2 separate regions of the Homo sapiens genome follow, and region 1 is linked to region 2. The links are contacts of gene promoters, found by promoter capture Hi-C in blood cells and fetal thymus (Javierre and others, 2016). All regions are on one chromosome and are shown on one strand. Each heading gives the region's core, a stretch centred on a gene start or on the middle of the fragment in contact. The rest is flanking DNA. Distances are from core to core; before and after follow the strand shown.

The links. Contacts are between HindIII fragments. The CHiCAGO score rates a contact against its expected background, and 5 or more counts as called.
Region 1: a contact is called between a fragment that was not itself captured here and the fragment with the promoter of AP4B1 in region 2, in 1 of 17 cell types (M2 macrophages). The highest score is 5.6, in M2 macrophages.

Annotation. Positions count from the first base shown.
Region 1 is chr1:113,111,065-113,116,084 of GRCh38, forward strand. LRIG2 (leucine rich repeats and immunoglobulin like domains 2) reads left to right here. Exons shown (of 18, transcript NM_014813.3): 14 at 1,415-1,696; 15 at 3,363-3,812. Among named protein-coding and RNA genes, the nearest start is that of LRIG2, 40 kb to the left of the region's middle. The HindIII fragment of the contact is 4,473 bases long and covers 570-5,020 here.
Region 2 is chr1:113,901,437-113,906,294 of GRCh38, forward strand. AP4B1 (adaptor related protein complex 4 subunit beta 1) reads right to left here and starts at 3,363. Exons shown (of 10, transcript NM_001253852.3): 1 at 3,169-3,363; 2 at 1,202-1,426; 3 at 319-449. The coding sequence starts at 3,281. It overlaps DCLRE1B (DNA cross-link repair 1B), which reads left to right and starts at 3,890. Exons shown (of 4, transcript NM_022836.4): 1 at 3,890-4,339. The coding sequence starts at 4,151. RefSeq lists enhancers at 2,999-3,058, 3,139-3,698, 3,729-3,778. The HindIII fragment of the contact is 8,249 bases long and covers 585-4,858 here.

The DNA.
Region 1 (5,020 bases), core at 1,556-4,055, 790 kb before region 2:
CGCTCTGTCGCCCAGGATGGAATGCAGTGGCATGATCTCGGCTCACTGCAAATTCCGCCTCCCAGGTTCAAGTGATTCTCCTGTCTCCTGTAATTCGAGTAGCTGGAATTACAGATGTGCGCCACCAGGCCCATCTAATTTTTGTATTTTTAGTAGAGACAAAGTTTCACCATTTTGGCCAGGTTGGTCTCAGACTCCTGAGCGCAAGTGATCCGCCTGCCTTGGCCTCCCAAAGTATTCGGATTACAGGCATGAACCACTGCACCCAGCCTTATTTCAGTACCTTTTGGGGTACAAGTGAGTTTTTTTCCCATGGATGAATTATAGTGGTGCATTCTGAGAATTTAGTGCACCCATCACTGAGTAGCGTACATAGTATCTAATGTGTAGTTTTTTATCCCTAGCCCCCGCTCACCCTCTCCATTCTGAATCTCTAACGTCCATGATACCACTCTGTATGCCTTTGTGTACTCATACTTAGCTCCCACTTATAAGTGAGAACATATGGTGTTTGGTTTTTCACTCCACACAGGATCATTTTAAAAATGAATACTCTTCTTTCCTGCAAAAGCTTCTTAAAAACAGCTTGATTTATCTATTGCCTATTAAATTGAATAACTACAACATTTTAGGGTTTGTACAACCAAAAGATGTACTTATGTTTTGCTTCTGTGTTTTTTAATGATACTTTTGAAGGCATAAGTTTTTTTAGCATGCAGTTTCCTTGATAGCTTTGTAGATGTTGGTTTGGGAACATTTTTGAGATGGACTCTCACTCTGTCATGCAGGCTGGAGTGCAGTGGTGTGATCTCAGCTCACTGCAGCCTTCGCCTCCTAGTTTCAAGTGATTCTCCTGCCTCAGCCTCCCAGGGAAGCATCATTTAGCTTCATAAGTGAGAGAGTCATAGTAAATACCAGGTTCTAAAATACGAAGTTCAAAGAAGGTTTGTGGCCTTCTGCTTTCCCTAGTTCCAGCTGATGATTAAGTGTATCATGCATCCTAGAAGACACAGTCATCAGTGTGCTCCAAATACTCTGAGGTTCTGGAAGAAAAGATGTTCTCAAAACCATATTCACTCTTGGCTGGGTGCTGTGGCTCAGGCTTGTAGTCCCAGCACTTTGGGAGGCCAAGGTGGGAGGATAGCTTGAGGCCTGGAATTTGAAGCTGCAGTGAGCTATGATTGCGCCAGTGTACTCCCGCCTGGACAGCAGAGCAAGACCCTATCTCTAAAGTTTGTTTTTGTTTTTTTAAATTTATAAAACTATATTCACTCTCAATCAGAGAGCCTGTCTTCACAAAGAAATGGAACATTAGGGGGTGTCTTGCCTACTAGATTCTTTCATGCCTATTTGTATGCATATATGTGTCTTTGTTCCCTTGCCCACTTTTTCTTGGTGATTTTTCTGGAAACAGAGATGCCATCTTTTCTGAAAACGCCAATGGATCTGACTATTCGCACTGGTGCCATGGCCAGATTAGAATGTGCTGCAGAGGGACACCCTGCACCTCAGATTTCCTGGCAGAAAGATGGTGGTACTGACTTTCCTGCGGCTCGAGAAAGACGCATGCACGTCATGCCCGAGGATGACGTCTTCTTTATTGCCAATGTGAAAATAGAAGATATGGGAATCTATAGCTGCATGGCACAAAATACAGCAGGAGGTCTCTCAGCAAATGCTTCCCTAACAGTGTTAGGTACGTTTACTGCTCCATGGGTCCCTGCTTTTGTTGGAGTCTTTGGGAGCTACTCTTGGTCTTAATGAGCAAGAAAAATAAGTTTGAGATTACCTCTGTGATTCTTAGATCTTTATCTTATTTCACAATTTTATGCAAGGTTATGTCAGTCTAGGAATTAGTGGGTCAGATAACTGAAATGTGGGAAAATACATAGGGCAAAATTAGGTAGGCATCCTTGTCACAATAATTGAAAGTTCAAATTCCTTTATCAGCTTATCTTTTTAAGTCCCTCTCTGTAAGGTTTCTGTTTCATGTAGGTGTGTTTACTATTCACTGAGTTTGCATTGAGAGTTCCACTGTTCTTTTAGGAGTATCCCAGCCATTTGATGCTGCTTCACTTATTGCTTGATAGGAACCTAAGACTATTTAACTGTTTGCTCCTAGTTCATTTTCAAAAAAAATTTAATACAAAAAAAAAAAAAAAAGATGTGTTTTCTGGTTAGAGTTTCTGCTTTCCTTTTCAGTGTGTTCTTCTTAACCCTATTTCTGGTAAAATGCCTTTTTTCCTAAAAATTTTCCCCTGCTGGCCTGGGTTTTTTTTGTTGTTGTTGTTTGTTTGTTTTGTTTTTTCTTCCTTATTACAATACTTTTCTTCGTGGAACTCAAATCCAGGGTAAATTCTACTTTCCAGTTCTCTATTTTCCTATATGTCAGTTATTATTATTATTTTTTTTAAGTTTGTTGGTTTGTATTGTTTACTTGTATAACCAGAAAAATAAGAAGTCATTTATTTATTTATTTATTTATTTATTTATTTATTTATTTATTTATTTATTTTGAGACGGAGTCTCATTCTGTTGCCCAGGCTGGAATGCAGTGGCGCAATCTCGGCTCAGAGCAACCTCCACTTCCCGGGTTCAAGTGATTCTCCTGCCTCAGCCTCCTGAGTAGCTGGTACTACAGGCATGTACCACTGCGCCCAGCTAATTTTTGTATTTTTTTTAGAGACGGGGTTTCACCATGTTGGTCAGGCTGGTCTCGAACTCCTGACCTCATGATCCGCCTGCCTCAGCCTTAGAAAAATAAGTCATTTATTGTTTTAACATGTTAAGATATACAGAAAATTAGGAAAAGGGGAGGAAAGTCACTCAAATACTTAAGGATTTTAGCATATTCTAGACTTTCCCCTCTCACTTTTATGTAGTCAAATATACCTACATTTTTTTCATTTAATATTGTACCACAAGTTGCCTTGTTATTAAAGTCTTTGTAAAAGATCATGTGACTATAATTTACTTAATCATTTTTCTGCTAGATTTAAAAATGTTTTTCTTTATTCTTTAAAGTTACACATTTTGTAGTAAACATCTTTGCGTATAAATCTTTGAATTTCTTTTTTTTTAAGTTATTTTTAATCTTTTTTAATGGGTCACCGCTGCTCACCCCCTCCAGCTATTGCAGCTGCCCTGAACTTCTTTCTTAGGATAGCTTGCCTAAGCTGGAATTATCGAGAAAAGATTGAGGCTTTTTTCAGGATTTTGTTCTGAAACATTAACTTCTAATCCTCCCATGAGTATATAAAATTACTCATTTTATTATACCCCCATTGGTCTAATTCAGTAGAAATTAGGGAATAAAATTGCCTAACTTTTCATTTTTTTTTTTTTTAATGTTTTCCTGTTAGAGACACCCTCATTTATTAGACCCCTGGAGGATAAGACAGTAACACGAGGTGAAACTGCGGTGTTACAGTGCATAGCTGGAGGGAGTCCTGCCCCTCGTCTCAACTGGACTAAAGATGATGGGCCTTTGCTGGTGACAGAACGACATTTCTTTGCTGCAGCCAATCAGCTTCTCATCATTGTAGATGCCGGGCTAGAAGATGCTGGGAAATATACCTGCATTATGTCTAACACCCTTGGGACAGAACGTGGCCACATTTACCTAAATGTCATTTCATCCCCCAATTGTGACTCTTCCCAGAGTAGCATTGGGCATGAAGATGATGGCTGGACCACAGTTGGCATTGTCATCATTGTTGTGGTCTGCTGTGTTGTTGGCACTTCTTTGATCTGGGTCATTGTTATTTACCACATGAGAAGGAAAAATGAAGACTATAGTATCACAAACACAGGTAAGTAGTACCCACATGACACCTATGGCTTGTACTTCAGTCAAGAATGTAGTATAGGATTAATTGTACAATATAAAAAACTGAGAGCTGGTCATAGTAGCACATGCCTGTACTCCCAGCTACTCAGGAGGATGAGGTGGGAGGACTGCTTGAGCCCAGGAGTTCAAGGCCCACCTGGGCAACATAGCAAGACCTCATCTTCCCCCTCAAAAAACTGAAGAGCTGTGATACATTACCTGATATGTGATAGAAGGGAGTTTTTGTTGTTAAAATGTTCAACTTCTTTGATATAACAGAACCTCTTTGAGGAATAGGTTCATAACAGAACCTCTTTGAGGAAAGAATTTTGTTTATTTGAGATAGGGTGTTACTGTAATGCCCAGGTCAGAGTGTATCGGTACATTCATGGCTCACTGCAGCGTTGACTTCCCAGGCTCAGGTGATTCTCCCATCTCGGCCTTCTGAGAAGCGGGGACTATAGGCATGTGCCACCGCGCCTAAGTTTTTATATTTTTAGTAGAGTCGGGTTTTGCCATGTTGCCCAAGCTGGTCTCAAACTCCTGGGCTCTAGCAATTTGTCCACCTTGGCCTCTCAAAGTGCTGGGATTACAGGCATGAGCCACTGCGTCTGACCAATTTTAAGAATTTGTAAATTTTTTTTTTTTTTTTTGAGATAGAGTCTCGCTCTGTTGCCAGGCTGGAGTGCAGCGGCATGATCTTGGCTCAATGCAACTTCCACTTCCCGGGTTCAAGCGATTCTCCTGACTCAGCCTCCCGAGTAGCTGGGACTACAGGCGTGTGCCACCATGCCCAGCTAATTTTTGTATTTTTAGTTGAGACGGGGTTTCACCATGTTGAACAGGATGGTCTCAATCTTTTGACCTCGTGATCCACCCACCTTGGCCTCCCAGAGGGCTGGGATTACAAGCGTGAGCCACCACGCCCGGCCAAACTTTACTTCTAAAAACGCATTACAGATGCATTCTTTTTAATGTCTAAGGCTCCTTTTCATCATAATTTTGCTGTAAGGAAGAGTGGAGCCCTTGTGATTGAGATCAGTCTCTTTTTTTCCCTTGAATATCAAACTGGATCATTGAGGTCAGTCTTTTACACCTCTCACCCTGGAATCCTGCAAGAAAAGAAATCTAGGCAGATAGATTATGAAAGTGTGGCAGTAGATAAGATTTCAACCTTTAGGTTTTGTTTCT
Region 2 (4,858 bases), core at 2,113-4,612:
GGATGTAGCCAGAGTAATAGCTCCAGGTAGACAAAGTTGAACTTCTCTGCTACAAAAATGACAAAGGCCACACTAAAGTGCAAGGCAAAAAAAAAACTGCCATGTCCAGACTGTTCTAAGCAGCTAATACAAAGGATCTCATTGGGGCCCCAGAGAAAGGACTTCTCATCTCCAGAAGATACCAAGCCCTGCATCCTACTTAAAGAGATATGTACAGAACTGGGGCCACATTATTATTTTCTACCAAAGCCACACAATCTTTTTTAAAGTTATACATAATGGAGGCACATTGACCATGATGGATTACACTGAACTTACCTACTTCAGAGTCTCCATGAAGATTATGCATCTTGGCACATCCAAGGACTGCCACTCTCCTGACATATGAAGCCTTATCCCGCAGACCATTGAGAATAGGCTGTTGTATATACTCCTGCACACCAGGCATCCTAAGCAACACATCCTGGAGTTAGCCAGATTCTGAAATACTAATTTTGACATACCTCAGCCCCTGTTCACCTAACAGATGGTTTAGTAGATGCTGCACCCATCAGATCATGAAGAATTGCAGAAAGCCTCTATCAAGCTTAAAAAGCCATAATTTGACTTTTCTGTTTTTTTCTTGTTTTTTTCAAGATGGGGTCTCACTTTGTCACCCAGTGGCCCGATCATAGCTCACTGCTGCCTTGAATTCCCGGGCCCAAGCCATCCTCCTGCCTCAGCCTTCCTAGTAGCTGAGACTACAGGTGCGTGTCACCATGCCCATTTAATTTTTTGTAGATATAGGCTCTCACCATCTTGCCCAGCTGGTCTCAAATTCCTGGGCTCAAGCAATCTTCCTGTCTAAGCCTCCCAAAGTGCTGGGTCTACAGGCATGAGCCACTGTGCCCAGCCTAATTTGACTTTTCATTTGGAATAATGATGCACAGGCAGCAAAAAAAGATATACACATAATTGTTTAGAGATATTTAACCAAAACTGAGGACTATTTTACTTAGAGTGAGAATCAAAAACTCCCTCTAATAAAATTATATGATACAGGTTATTAAGCCAAAGCAGTGGCTGAAAATCTGAGTTCAGGGTACAATAATGTTTTCCCCAGTATTAAGGAGCTCAAATAAATTATCCTCTTTAAAAACCTACCCTGTGATCACTTGAATTCATCAGCCATTTAGGACCAGACAGAGAAGAGGGTACTCACCTGAGGCTACACATGCTCCGTAACGCCAGCCCTCGCACCATTGGATTGGGGTCTGAGCAGTCTTTGCACAGCGTATTGATGGCCAGGAGAGCCAGATCTGGTTTCAGGGGAGCATATGTGCACATGTACAGATAAACCAACTTCTTCTGGACAATATCTACAGTGGCACTGGCCTTCACCATTTCCATAAAAACACCAGACATGTCCAAGCCTTGAGTCATGTACCTGAACAACGCACATGACAGAAGGAAGTAAAATGCAAAATCCCCAACTTACAATGGAGGGAGTTTTACTTACATATCTCCTGATTACCCAACTAGATTGTGATCTCTTAGAGGGTAGCAGCCAGGATTACCTTGTCTATTATATCACACAGTACTTCATACCATAGGCCTACAATAAACATTATTCTTCTATTCATTCAACAAACACTTATTATTATTTTTGAGACAGAGTCTTGCTCTGTTACCCAGGCTAGAGTGCAGTGGCACAATCTCGGCTCATTATAAGCTCCGCTTCCCAGGTTCAAGCGATTCTCCTGCCTCAGCCTCCCGAGTAGCTGGGACTACAGGTGCGTGCCACCACGCCCAGCTAATTTTTGTATTTTTAGTAGAGACGGGGTTTCTCCATGTTGGCCAGGCTGGTCTCGAACTCCTGACTGCAGGTGATCCACCCGCCTTGGCCTCCCAAAGTGCTGGGATTACCAGCGTGAGCCACCGCACCCAGCCTCAACAAACACTTATTGAATCCCTAGTACTTTGGTGAAATTCAACTTTTACATCCAGGGACATGCTCTTGGGACATAATCTTGAAGAAGGTGTGGTCTCAAACCTCTAGGAACTTCAAATCTATTAATGAGCCAGATGAGAATACCGTTAATTACAGTATGATAGATAAGTACTTAAACAGAAGTATTGTACAAGGTGTAGAGGGGATTCAGAGGTCTGACACTGGCAGGAAGTCAGAAAATGTTTCTTCACAGAGGAAGTAATACTTTAGCTGAATGAGCAGGAGCTCACTAGGCAGATGTAATAGCAAGGTAAAGATACATGCTATGAGGTAAGTAGACATGAGCAGGAGCAGCACACATTTTTTTAAGAGTCTGTAGGTAGTTGAATTAACAGCTTGTTCCTTGGGTGCTGTGATAAGTTTGGACTTTATTGTTTCTCAGACTGGTCTCCTACTGGAACCAACTGAAATGTTTATTAAAAATACAGATTCCTGGGTTCCCTCCCACCCTACTGAAATCAGAATCAGTCCCTGGACTGGATGACAAAAAGCACCCCAAGGGATTTTTATGCATAGTAAAGTTTGTGAACCATAGCTGTAGGCAAGAGTTATGTGTTCAGGTATGTATAATGGAAAAATTCTGTCTCAAATGAGGCAAAGTGGCCTACTAGTAAGCTGCTGCAATTGCTTTATTGATGAAGGCCTGGACCAGAACAACAATGCTAATAAACAAGAGAGGATGGATATTTAGAATTATGAATTCAAACCATCTGACATAAGAAGTGAGAGATCAGGTGTCCTCAAGGTTGGCTCCCACGCATAGTCGGCTGCTGGTGGCATTCATCAACACAAATGTAAGCTGAACAGGTTTGAGGAAGACGGAAGAATGTCCGGGCTATTTCGGACATACTTTTGATAAACCACGCACGTGGAAATGCCAAGCAGGCAGTGGGATACGTGGGTCTGAAGCTAAAAAAGGAAGTCTGTACTAGCTATATTATAGATCCAAGAGTCACCAGTAATTGCTCAAGCCCGTGATATGGAGGAAACTACCCAGCTGAGTAAAAGATGCTGCAGAGGGGAGACTGACATGGTACTCCAAAGCAGCAGGACGAAGACCGAACCATATAACTGCCACGTGTGAAAGCTAATTCACCCTTTCAGAGAGACTGGGGCTAGTGAGCCCTGATGGGGATTGCAAAGGGAGCAGTTAGCACGCGAAGGGAGGTAGGTGATACCTAATCACTCGCTGGATGACATTCCGGTAGCGCAGCCTATCAGCTTGAATGTGAGGATTGCACAGAGCCTTCTTCAGCTCCTTCACCACGTCCTCGGAGCCAAGGTACGGCATCTTCCTAAGAGTCACAGGGCAGCTCCCACAGCTCCCACGGTAACTCGAGGGCTCCTTCTCGTCCTGATGTGGGAGCCTGAGTAAAGGAAATATGAGTCAGTGAAAATACAAAAGGCGAGATCTCGCCTCAGGCTCGGCTTCCGTAGGGCCGGCACGCTGGCCCTGACACACTTCCACGCCCTCCGCGACACCGCGAGCCCCACCCTAGGCTCTTCAGGCCCTACCGTCGGCCGGCAGGCCGTTCGCCCCGCCCACAGATCGCTCCCGCTACTTCTAGGTCCTCCGCCGGATTTCCAGCGCCGCGTCCGACTGACCGCAGACCCCTCCCTCTCCAGTTCCAGCCTTAATTCCCCCTCCACGCCGTTCTCATCGCGGATAGGCCCAATCTTGCTTTCTGCGGAAGTCCCGCCCCCTTGTCAAGAGACCAAACAGAAGACCGCTGCCGGTCTCCCCGCGAGCGAGCGCTAAGCGTAGTCCCGACTCCGACCTTAGGATGCCCTTCCCCCAACCTCTCACTCTCCAGGCGCAGCTGCGCGGCTCCCTCTGGTGGAGCTGCGGCGGGCAATCGGAAATCGGCTACTTTGGCCTGTCTCCTCCCTGCAGCGCGCGCTTTGAGTGCCCGGCTCGGCCTCCGCTCCCGCGCGGTTGGGAGTGTCCAGCGCCCTCCGCGATTTGGGCTCCAGCGGGCAGGGTGACTTCCTTTTTCTGCCCACTCTGGTAACTTATTGCTCTGCTGGGCTCTTTCCCTTAGGGTCTCTGGCCCTGTTCTTGCCCCAGCATGACTTTTATCGGGACGCCGTTGTGGAAGCCTCACGCAGGAGCCCTGCCCCCGTGGAGAAGATCCCACTGGTGACTCCAACCCTACCACCATGAATGGGGTCCTGATCCCCCATACGCCCATCGCAGTGGACTTCTGGAGCCTGCGCCGGGCTGGCACCGCACGTCTCTTCTTCTTGTCTCACATGCACTCGGACCACACCGTGGGCCTGTCTAGCACCTGGGCCCGGCCCCTCTACTGCTCCCCAATTACAGCCCACCTCTTGCATCGTCACCTACAGGTATGGGGCTGGAGTCGGTCTCCGAGAGCTGGTCCAGGCATCTGGGTTGGGACTTCAACCTGTCATTCTTGGAGTCATAGAATGGGGGCCACGAAAACTGATTTGGAAGTTGTTTGAACCCAAAAATGCATCTTTAACCCAGAATAGGAACGTGTTTTCGAAGTGACCAACTTGAGATAGTTAGCCATAAGTTGAGGAGATATTTTAATCCAGCCAAGGAAACTATTCCTACCTTTATAAGTAAGCTAGGCCGATGTTTCCCAAACTTGCCTTTTTTTTTTTTTTTTTTTTTTTTTTTTGAGACGGAGTCTCGCTCTGTTGCCCAGGCTGGAGTGCAGTGGCGCAATCTCGGCTCACTGCAGCCTCCGCCTCCCGGGTTCAAGCGATTCTCCTGTCTCGGCCTCCTGAGTAGCTGAGATTACAGGCGCACGCCACCACGCCCAGCTAATTTTTTGTATTTTTTGTGGAGACGGGGTTTCACCATGTTGGCCAGGCTGTTCTCTAACTCCTGACCTTAAG